3 separate regions of the Homo sapiens genome follow, and regions 2 and 3 are each linked to region 1. Evidence: promoter capture Hi-C in human tissues and cell types (Jung and others, 2019). All regions are on one chromosome and are shown on one strand. The core of a region is centred on a gene start or on the middle of the fragment in contact, and the rest is flanking DNA. Distances in the headings are between cores, read along the strand shown.

Region 1 (3,621 bases), core at 597-3,096:
ACCAATGGGAGGCCAGGCGCTGTGGCTCATGCCTGTAATCCCAGCACTTTGGGAGGCTGAGGCGGGTGGATCACCTGAGGTCAGGAGTTTGAGACCAGCCTGGCCAACATGGTGAAACCCCGTCTCTACTAAAAATACAAAAATTAGCTGGGCATGGTGACAGGCGCCTGTAATCCCAGCTACTCAGGAGGCTGACGCAGGAGAACTGCTTGAACCCAGGAGGCAGAGTTTGCAGTGAGCCGAGATCATGCCATTGCACTCTAGCCTGGGCAATGAGAGCAAAACTCCATCTCAAAAAAAAAAAAATACCAATAGGATGTTTGTTTTTATCAGTTCATGTCTCTTCTTCTAGCACCTCATGTTATGTAATAGCTCTACTCCTGAAAACTGGGGCTCAGACTTTTATAAGCTAAAACTCTGATTGCAGTGATATCTTCTCAAAGTGTGGATCTTCATCAGTTAATTTGCCAGGTTTACATATTTAGATCACTTAAATCAGGGCCCAGCTGCCCTGTTAGCAAAGTGGAAACTCTAAATAGCCAACTAAGCAGCATGCTGTACGTGTGTGTGTGTGTGTGTGCGCGCACATGCGTGCAAGCATTGTGACACACACAGTGTGGAGTGGTGTGCGTGTGAGTTTCAAGGTATGTGGAGTCCAAGGTGACTGTCTGGCACCCAGTCTTTCTTGCGTGGCACAAGTGCTGTCGCTGAGAATATAAATGTATCTTGTGTTTGGGTGTGTGCCTTGAAGAGGGACTGTGGTTGGTGTATAAATCCCCTCCTCCAAGCCTTTTGCATTTAGAAAACCACCTAAGCCTGATCCCATCCATCTTTAAAATCGAGAACCTAGACAATTGGAGAGCTGCTTGTTGATAGGGACATGCACAAATACACATGATACCTTATGTCATGCACTGAGCTCTTATTTGGGTGGAAGTCTGGGGCTGGGAAGGAACACCCACCTGAGAGGGCCAGGAATTCCTCCCGGCCTCAGTCCCTCCGACTACGCGGGCATTGGTTTCCGGAAGGTCCTGGGTGCTGTGTCCTTTGTGGGGCAGAAGAAAAGTGAGTGATGACTAAGCATGGGGTCAGCCAGGGGTAGGGGTGGGGGGTGGCGATTGTGCTTTGAGGAATGTTAGCCTTGTCTGCAAATTCACAGTTCCTCTCTAACGAATGAGGGGCCCAGCTGTGAGTTCTCTGAGCCCCTTTTGAAAACAGGGGTGCCTGGGTGCCTTCTGTTTCCCCCAGGTGTTCCCAGAACTCCGGCATGCTATGAAGGACCTCTCTCAAACCACCAGGCTAGGCCCCAGAGGCTCCTTGTGGTCTCCTCTTTGCTCAAGATCACCCTTTGGCCTGAAGAGACCCCCCCCCACTCTTTGACCCCCACCAGCCCCCTAATGCTTTGGCAAGATTCTCCAGGGTTCAGGGCCTGCAGTGCACACCCCAGCCAGGCACCTGCTGAGGAAGTCCTCCTGTCAATGGGGGTGGTGGGGAAGCCCAGGGACCCACCCCACTACCAGATGGGGCTTCTCTCTGCTTTGTGGCCCAGGGACCTGCCACCCAGAGGGGCCTGAATAGCCAGTGGCCCTGACCTTTTCTATCTTGGCCTCCAGGAGAGTAAAGGACGCTCTGCAGGCAGAGCGTCCCACCTGCCCTGGGACAGGGTGCTGGCCTGGACTTAGGGAAAATTTGCTGACCTTCCTGCCCAAGTCCCCCTCCCTATAGACCTCAGGCCACATGATCCACTTACCATAAAGGACCAGGGTTGCGACTGGACCATATCCACTTACCATAAAGGACCAGCATGTTGCCGATGGAGTAGACCACTGCCTTCTTGCTTGGACCAAGCCCTCTTTATACTCCTCTTAGCAGCAAAGCTGACTGTCTTCTTGCCAACTGGCAGGGCTGAGGGTGCAAGGCAGGGAAAATCACAAGTGACATGGAAATACAAATGAAAATATTTCTTTTCAAGTAAACTAATGTATCTGTTATTCAAAGACAGAACAAGGCCAGGGCTGAATTAATCATCTGCTTTTAATTGAAAAGCATCCAACAAACTCTTTTTCAGAAATAAGATGGAGAACCAGGGCTGGTTTTTCTCTAAGGGAGCACCCCTTGTCATCCATCACTCTCTCGTTGTCCTCAGTGGCACCATAAATGCAGAGACTTGCCCTGTGCACTAGCAGCTGGAGGCCAGGGGGATAGTGGAAGAGGGGGGAGTGGTTAGCAAGGGCAAGGAAGACACAGCAACTCTCTCTGCCCAAAGAGGGAGATGGCACATGCCCCCAGGATGCAGGCATAGGTGTAAATGCAGACACAAAAGCCAAATAGATGCAGTGGAGATAATTCTGGGGGAGGAAAGTACTGAGAAACAGGCTTGGGCCCTCTCAGATGGAGAGCCAAGAAGGGGCTCCCAGAGGAGAATATGAGGCAGGGTAGAGGAGGGGATCCTTGGGATGTGAAGACAGTCTGAGGGCTATGAGGGTAGATGGAGGGTGGAGGGCAGAGGGAGAACGAGGGTAGGAGCCGAGGTTCCTGCAGGAGATGAAAGGCTTTGTTCATCACAGTTCGTAGAGGAGAGAGAAGGGAGTTGCGGCCGGGCGCGGTGGTTTACGCCTGTAATCCCAGCACTTTGGGAGGCTGAGGCGGGCGGATCACAAGATCAAGAGATCGAGACCATCCTGGCCAACATGGCGAAACCCCGTCTACTAAAAATACAAAAATTGGCCGGGCGCGGTGGCTCATGCCTGTAATCCCAGCACTTTGGGAGTCGGAGGCGGGCGGATCACGAGGTCAGGAGATTGAGACTACTCTGGCTAACACAGTGAAACCCCGTCTCTACTAAAAAAATACAAAAAATTAGCTGGGCGTGGTGGCAGGCGCCTGTAGTCCCAGCTCCTCGGGAGGCGCAGGCAGGAGAATGGCGTGAGCCCGGGAGGCGGAGCTTGCAGTGAGCCGAGATCGCGCCACTGCACTCCAACCTGGGCGACAGAGCGAGACTCCATCTAAAAAAAAACAAAAACAAAATACAAAAATTAGCTGGGCATGGTGGTGCGCTTCTGCAGTCCCAGCTAATCTGGAGGCTGAGGCAGGAGAATCGCTTCAACCTGGGAAGCGGAGGTTGCTGCACTCCAGCCTGGAGACAGAGCAAGACTCTGTCTCAAAATAAATAAATAAATAAATAAATAAATAAATAAATAAATAAATAAATAGAGAGAGAAAAGAGTTGCAATGTGCCTTGAGGTGGGCAGAGGACCCTTGGGTTGGCCACAAAATGATCAGAGCCACTGCAGGCTCCAGAGCAGAGGACTGTGGGTGCAGCAGTCATGGTAGCAACGCATGGGGTTTGGAATTAGGCAGGGAGAAGCCAGGAACCTAGACAGAAGCAGGACCATCACCTGCCCACCCAGGGCTTTTGTTGCCTAAACACTCCAGAATCCAAGCTTCATGGCTGCAGGGGTGGGAGAAACCTGGAAAATGCTCTTTGAAGGAATCTGCACAGTCACTTTTTCAGTGTCTAGAGCTGTTCAGAGGAGTTGCACTTTGATGCTCAGATAACCTGAAGAGCTTGCTCTCCAGCCTGCCCTCCAGCATTCTGGCACACTCAGGGAAGAGGGGTGA
Region 2 (3,621 bases), core at 494-2,993, 160 kb after region 1:
GGAATGAATCATATGTTCCCTTTTTGTCTAATTGTAACACTTTTATTCAGTCTCTTCAACTAAGAGTCTTTGCTGGGATGGAAGATTTGGGCCGTGTGGTGCCTCAGGGAAGTTCTGGTTACAGAGAAAATGGCGAGTCTCTCAGAGAAGAAGCAAGACCAAGTCTGGCCCTGTCCTTGGTCATCTCAAAGCCATGCCGAAGCATTCAGTTATTCTTGGTGTGCATTGGAAGGCATCCAGCTATCCCCATACCAGCAGCCAGTCACCAGATGTGAATGTGGAAGCAGAAGACCACCTCCTGTTGGTTCTTCTCCTCTTCCTTCTTTTTCTCTTTAGAACGGCCACCATTGAAGACCTAGCTTCCCATTTTCCAGACGTTTTCTCTGAAATTCTCTGCTGGCCTGCCAAGCCATATGGATTCATTCTGCCACTGAGGAGTCCTTCAGTGAGGTCCCTCTTCCTAAAGGACAGAGTGGGGAGTAGGAGGGGAACAGAGAGGACATCCTCTCTGGCTCTCCAGTGCTCTTAGTGTCTACAGGCTCCTAGGCAGCCCTGGGCCTTGGTTTGATTACCTCCCCTGGGGGATGCTGGTCAGACCCAGAGGTTGTCAGGAGGTCAGCTACCAGGAAGATCCATGATCTGGGCATTGGCAGTGCCTGCCACCACAGCCAGGAAGATGCCTCTGACCTGGGTGCATCTCCATCACTCCTTAGCAGCAGCCTGCATAACTGGCAAGAATCTTGGATGATACAAGAGCCAAGAAGGGACATTTGAGTTGTGTCGCTTAGATAGGAAAGGGATCCAGGGAAAATCAACAGTAAGTGAGGATGAGCAGTGTCTCTTGGTTTTCATTGAGGATAGAGTAAGAGATTGAGTTTAGATTGCAACAGAAGGAATTAGTTTAGATACCAGGAAGAACTTCCTAGCCTGAAGATTTGTCATAGTGTCTGCTTTCTAGATATCTGGGAAAGATTTGATAATAGTTGTTTGTGAATAGAAAGGAGGATATGATGTTTTTATTGGCCATTTTGCGGGACTCTTCGACTTCTTGCTGCTGTCTCTTGAGGATACATTCCAATTCCATCCTGGCGAGATCCAAGTGCTTACGTACTGTCTCCTTAGCTGCCTTAGAGTAAACGATCATCAGTTCAATGGACCAAAATCACCTTCAGCCATGTGGTTTCTTCATCATCATGGATTTCTTTTGGTTGACAAACATTCTGGCTCTCAGATGCAAAAAGTCACACTGGGAAATGAACTGTAAGTGGTGAAATTAGTTTTGGTATTTAATTTAAAACTACATTTATAGTTTTTCTCTTCTCTTCTATGTTGCAATGAATGTAAAGTATTTGGGATCCAGTGCTTATAAACCTTTCCTTCCTTTGTGCACAGAATGTAACTAGCAAGCCCATTAGCACCCAGATAATTCTATCATGTTAGTTTCCCATCCTGGAAAATCTTTGTACAGTGGGAAGTTCCCCGATGTGTTTTTCTTTCTTAGGTGAAGGGTTGGCTATATCACTTTATTGAATTTTGCATTCCTTAGACTTTTAAAATATACTAATGTATTCTAGTCTTACTCTAAAGACCTTTGATGTTAAAGGAATCCTTCATTTATTTCATATTCCCTATCTCATAGGGCCACAATTATTTTAATACAGAGATGATTTTCAAAATATTTTAACAACTGGTACAGGACAGATGCCAGCCACTCAGAAGGGATGCCTGCTGTAAACAAGCAGTATGTATGGTTGTACCAATGCCTATTGGCTGAACATTATGCTACTTTCAGATATTAAAATGGTGTTCCTTTGAATCGTGGGTATTGTTCCTGGTTTGTCTCATTTCTATCACAAGGCTGTTTTGGGCACAGCCTTAGCTTCCTTTCATATATATATGGTGCAGACAGGATAGGTCATGCTTCTTGGAACCTATATGGGCATTAAAATCTTCATGAGCCAAAGCTTCACATTTTAGCACTTTAGGATAACTGTAGTAATTGTACTCATTTACCTACCTAATTGGGAAGAATTAAAAGGCAGCCCATCTGGAGGATAAGCTTTCTTGCAGACTTTTCCCTTGTCCCTCTCTGGCTGCCTCCTTGAGCTTGCCACTTTTTCATCTTCATTGTTCCCTGAGAACATCTCCCCTTTCTTGCTCTATCTTGCCCCTCCCATCTTTTCCTGCCACCTCTGTGTGGGGAGGTTGATGACCATTTCACCTCTTTCCCTAGCCTCAGCACAGCTGTAAGGAGTGTATCAAAACTGGGTGAGAGTATCACTCAGAAAAATGCCTCCCCTAACACACGGATGTCTTGTGCTGCCTTGACCGCTTGAGGGGAGGAGCCTTCATTAACTCTGTGTAGTGCAGGTACAGGACCACCTGTGCACTTTAGGGTACTTCTCGAGCTAGACCCTCCTGGATCACTGCGCCTTAGGAATGTTAGCTACTTTTTAAAAAAAATATGATTTGGTGCGTTGTTGGGGTGAACTCCATGGGGAAGATTGTGAGTGAAGATGGGAAGGAATTTGGGTGGTTTTGCCACGAGGTGATGGTTGGGGTTGGGCGAATGGGTTGGATGATCCTGGCTCTGTGGGTGTGGTGCTCGGTTGCCTCCGTACAGTTGCAGTTCACCTTTGTGCATGGTGATTACCAGTCACTCTAGGGATTGTAGGTCCCAACAGCGGTTCCAGCAGCCTGCACAGCTGGTACGAGGACAGCTGGAGGAGGGTCTGATATCCCTGCAAGTGATGCAGGATAAAACTTCCCGGCCGGGCGCAATGGCTCGCGCCTGTAATCCCAGCACTTTGGGAGGCCAAGATGGGCGGATCACGAGGTCAGGAGATCGAGACCATCCTGGCTAACGTGGTGAAACCCCGTCTCTACTAAAAATACAAAAAAATTAGCTGGGCATGGTGGCGGGCGCCTGTAGTCCCAGCTATTCAGGAGGCTGAGGCAGAATGGCGTGAACGCGGGAGGCAGAGCTTGCAGTGAGCCGAGATCATGCCACTGCACTCCAGCCTGGGTGACAGAGCAAGACTCCATTTCAAAAAAAAAAAAAAAAAAAAACTTCCCAATAGGAGGTATTCCTTGATGGCTCTCGAATGCATGAATGATATATCAATTTGAAGTTTCTCGACCTTTCCATCAAGGATCTTGAATTTTTTCTCAATTATGCTTGCTAATGTGTCAAAGGCCAAGTACACTGTATCAAACTTGCCGTCTGTAAGATGCAAGATCAATCTAGTGTTTCAGCCAGTTCACTACTGACATCAGACTCAACTTTGTCCCCTCTCTTTCTTTTCATGCAAGAGACTTTAAGGGTAACCTCTTCAGTTGAAACTGTCTTGGAAGTGCAGCCCTCCTCCTGTGTGGCTAGAGAAAGAGATGGCACCAGGATCTCTTAACGGCAAGTGCTCACGGGGCATGGGTGATTTTGTCTAGTCTGGTCCTTTTGGACGTGGTGATTTCCTGTCATCCTCGTGGTCTGACATTGCTTCTCACTGGATACTGGTTGTGGCCTTTGACTCATTAGCTGATTGTTGGATCTCTTTGTGAGGTTCGATTTTTTAAAAATCCATGGGTCCCTATGGACTGTCACCTGTTGCAGATGATGGTGAT
Region 3 (3,621 bases), core at 744-3,243, 160 kb before region 1:
CAGTCCTGGCCCTCAGCCCGTTGGCTGCCTTCTCTTCCCTCTCCCCATCTTGCACTGCAAAGAGCCTGACGTACATGTGTAGACACCGTAGTCTACATATCCAAGCTCTGTCACCCTACTGTCTGACAAACAGCTGCCCTTTGGCCACGGCAGGGCTGAATGTTTGTGTTTCCCAAAAATTCCTATAATGAAACTGAATCCCCAATGTGATAGTACAGTTGTCCTTCCATATCTGTCGGGGATTGGTTTCAGGATGCCTGAGGATACCAAAATCCACAGGTGCTCAAGCCTCTCATATAAAATGGTGTACTCCAGCCTGGGCAACATAGTGAGACCCCATCTCTAAAAACAAAAATAAAAAAATTAGCCAGGTGTGGTGGCACATGCCTGTAGACCCAGCCACTTGGGAGGCTGAGGTGGGAGGATCACTTGAGCCAGGGAAATCTAGTGAGCTGTGATCACGCCACTGCACTCCAGCCTGGGCCAACAAGTGAGACTCTGTCTCTAGAAACAAAACAAAACCCACCAAAAACAGTGTAGTATTTCCACATAACCTCCTGTGCACATCCTCTTGCATAAAATTATCACTGGGTTACTTATAATACCTACTAATATAATGTAAATGCTATGTAAATAGTTGTTATACGATATTGACATTTTTTGTTTGTTTTGTTTTTTACTGTTGTATTAGGGGGGTTGGGTTGTTTGTTTGTTTGGAGGCAGAGTCTTGCTCTGTTACCCAGGCTGGAGTGCAGTGGTACGATCTCGGCTCACTGCAACCTCCATCTCCTGGGTTCAAGCAATTCTTGTGCCTCAGCCTCCCAAATAGCTGGGATTACAGGCATGTACCACCACACCTGTTTAATTTTTGGATTTTTAGTAGAGACGGGGTTTTACCATGTTGCCCAAGCTGGTTGCGAACTCCTGAGCTCAGGCAATCCGCCTGCCTTGGCCTCCCAAAGTGCTGGGATTACAGGCAATAGCCACCACACCCGGCCTGTTGTTGTTTTTGAATATTGTATTTTCCATCTGAGGTTGTATCTGAGGACACAGACCCCAGGGATATGGAGGGCTGACTAGATTAAGGTGGGGCCTTTTGGGGTGTGATTAGTCAAGTAAGATTAATGGGATTAGCTCCCTTATAAAAGAGGCCAAGGGAGCTTGCTTGCCCTTCCACCATGTGAGGTTACAGTGAAAAGATACCTGTTTATGAGGAAGAGGGCTCTTATCAGACATCGACCTTGATCTTGACCTTGATCTTGGACTTTCCAGTCTCCAAAACTGTGAGCAATAAATTTCTCTTGTCTGTAAGGCACTGAGTCTAAGGTACTTTGTTGTAGCAACCAGAGCAGACTAAGGCAGCCACCTCTTAGACCTACAAGTGTGCACACCAACGGCACAGCTCCTGGAACCCAGAGAGGAGGGGTCCAGGAAGTGGGCTTGGCAGAGAATTCTGGGGCTCTAGGTATAAGAAGGGTGTTCTAAAAGGAGACCCTGTGCCCTTCTGTCTCTAGAACTGAATCCCCAATGTGATGGGAGGGTCGTGGTGGCAGGAGGGCCCAAGCAGGGACTTCTGAAATGGGAATCCAGAGTACTGACCCCTGCTTTCTTGCAATGGGATTTTCCAGGCTGCAAGCTGACAGCAAAGACTGTCACTTCCCTGTCCTCTGACACTGTTTCACTAATATTTCTACCCTGAAGAGTGAACAGGAAACAAGCAGACCAGTACAAAAGAAAAAATACTGTTTATTCCACACAACTACATCAAGCGCTTCTTCCCCATTCTCCTCTCCCCTTGCTGCCCCTCCAGCCCTCAGGAAGCTTTGTCTGTGTTGGGAACAGTGAGAACCTCAGTGCCAGAGCCTGGTCCAAGAGGCAGGAAGGAAATCTGGGCATGGGAAGGTAATTGGATTTCCAAGAACACAAAAATGTCAGAGTCTCGCATTCCAAACTCGTGTGTTCCTTAGTCCATTTGGCTGAGTTCTTTCCCTGGACTTCACCTGGATAAAATGCCGTGGTAATGCAGGGTCAAAGGCCCTAGCTGATCCACCAGGAAAGTTTTGGTCTTTCTTCCATTTAAAACAAAACAAACAAAACTCCACACAGTTAAACCATTTCTGTCCATTCTCCTCTCTTTCCATAGTAAAGACGACACTAAGCTCTGGTGTAAGTCCAGAAGATGTTTTCAAAACAAAATGTATACCAACTCCTTCAGAGCCTGATGCTAACAAAAAATAAAATAAACCTACCTCCTAGGTGAGAGGTTCAGGCCCCAGCTGCTTCCTGGGGGGTCTTACACTGTGGGAGGAAGGGCAGAGGTCACAGGCCAGCGAGCTGTGCTTTGGGTAAACCTCAGGGACACCCTGCACCCCCATGCCTGGGGAACTCAGCCTGCAAACCTCCCACCCCTGGTATTGTTCCTCTGAATGACCAATCCATCATTCCAGCAGAGGAGAAATGGTTTAGTTTTAGCTCAGCTTTGGGAAGACAAATTTAAATGAGGGAGGGGCTGAGAAAGCATGGCCAGGCCTAATTTAGACCAGTGGTTCATGATTGTTTTCCCATCATGACACAGGACAGATGGTGTTCCCCTGCACGTCCACCACCACAGACACACCCTGGATTATGTGCTATTCCCAGGGTGCCAGCTGTGACCCATTTGTCTCTCTCAAAAAAGAAAGCATACCTGAATGCAAGCGTCTGAGCATGAAAACCTGCATCGCCATAAGTTTTTGTTTGTTTGAGACCGAGTCTTGCTCTGTCACCCAGGCTGGAGTGAAGTAGTGTGATCTCAGCTCATTGCAACCTCCAGGGTTCAAGCAATTCTCCTGCCTCCACCTCCCAAGTAGCTGGGATTACAGATGTGCACTACCACACCTGGCTAATTTTTGTATTTTTAGTAGAGACGGGGTTTCACCATGTTGGTCAGGCTGGTCTCGAACTCCAGACCTCAAATGATCCGCCCACCTCGGCCTTCCAAAGTGTTGGAATTACAGGCATAAGCCAATGTGCCTGGCCTAATTTACTGAAGTGTCAGTCACTGAATCCTTTACAAGCTCTGGAACTTAACTATTCTCACTGAAAACTTGTTTGCAACACCCCTCCCAAATGAGTCTGTCATCTCATTGAGGCAGGTCGATAACCCTGAACTAGAGTGTGGAGACTCTCTGTTGGAGACACGCTCTCCTGAAAAGCTGGGTCAGGCAAGCTGCCCACCTGCTTCCTCACCTCTGCTACACTCTGGCAGGCATGGTTTGTCCAAATGCAGCAGAGCGTGTATGTGTGTGTGTGTGCGCGCGTCTGTGCGCGCTGCACGTGCGTGTGCTAATTCAGCACACAACTGTCCTCCTCTTACTGGCCAGGCTACCAAGAGGGTGGCCACGCTGGCACTGCAGGGCCTGGGAGGCACCAACAGTAAGTGGGAAAGGAAACAGGACACCAGAGGAAGCTAGGCTAGGAGGTGGCTCTGCACCAGTGACTGACAGAGGTGGTGATGTGTCCCCAGCTGACGGTCCTTCCCTCAGGGTGGATCATGGGAGGTCCACTGGAGGCAGCTGTTAGAGACCAGCCTCTGTAAGGATAAGAGTACTGAAGACAGGGGTGGTTGACCCCCGTGACTTG

Evidence for each region. Contacts are between HindIII fragments. The study calls those that stand out against the background at their distance.
Region 2: a contact is called between a fragment that was not itself captured here and the fragment with the promoter of CELA1 in region 1, in 2 of the 25 tissues and cell types used here (heart right ventricle and pancreas).
Region 3: a fragment that was not itself captured here is called in contact with the fragment with the promoter of CELA1 in region 1 in 1 of the 25 tissues and cell types used here (spleen).

Annotation. Positions count from the first base shown.
Region 1 is chr12:51,344,833-51,348,453 of GRCh38, forward strand. It overlaps CELA1 (chymotrypsin like elastase 1), which reads right to left and starts at 1,847. Exons shown (of 8, transcript NM_001971.6): 1 at 1,791-1,847; 2 at 963-1,045. The coding sequence starts at 1,806. The HindIII fragment of the contact is 7,595 bases long and covers 1-3,621 here.
Region 2 is chr12:51,507,376-51,510,996 of GRCh38, forward strand. SLC4A8 (solute carrier family 4 member 8) reads left to right here. Exons shown (of 25, transcript NM_001039960.3): 25 at 51-3,621. The coding sequence ends at 63. Among named protein-coding and RNA genes, the nearest start is that of SCN8A, 82 kb to the right of the region's middle. The HindIII fragment of the contact is 4,227 bases long and covers 1-3,621 here.
Region 3 is chr12:51,185,210-51,188,830 of GRCh38, forward strand. It overlaps POU6F1 (POU class 6 homeobox 1), which reads right to left. Exons shown (of 11, transcript NM_001330422.2): 11 at 1,727-3,621. Among named protein-coding and RNA genes, the nearest start is that of TFCP2, 14 kb to the left of the region's middle. RefSeq lists a silencer at 3,117-3,256. The HindIII fragment of the contact is 6,472 bases long and covers 1-3,621 here.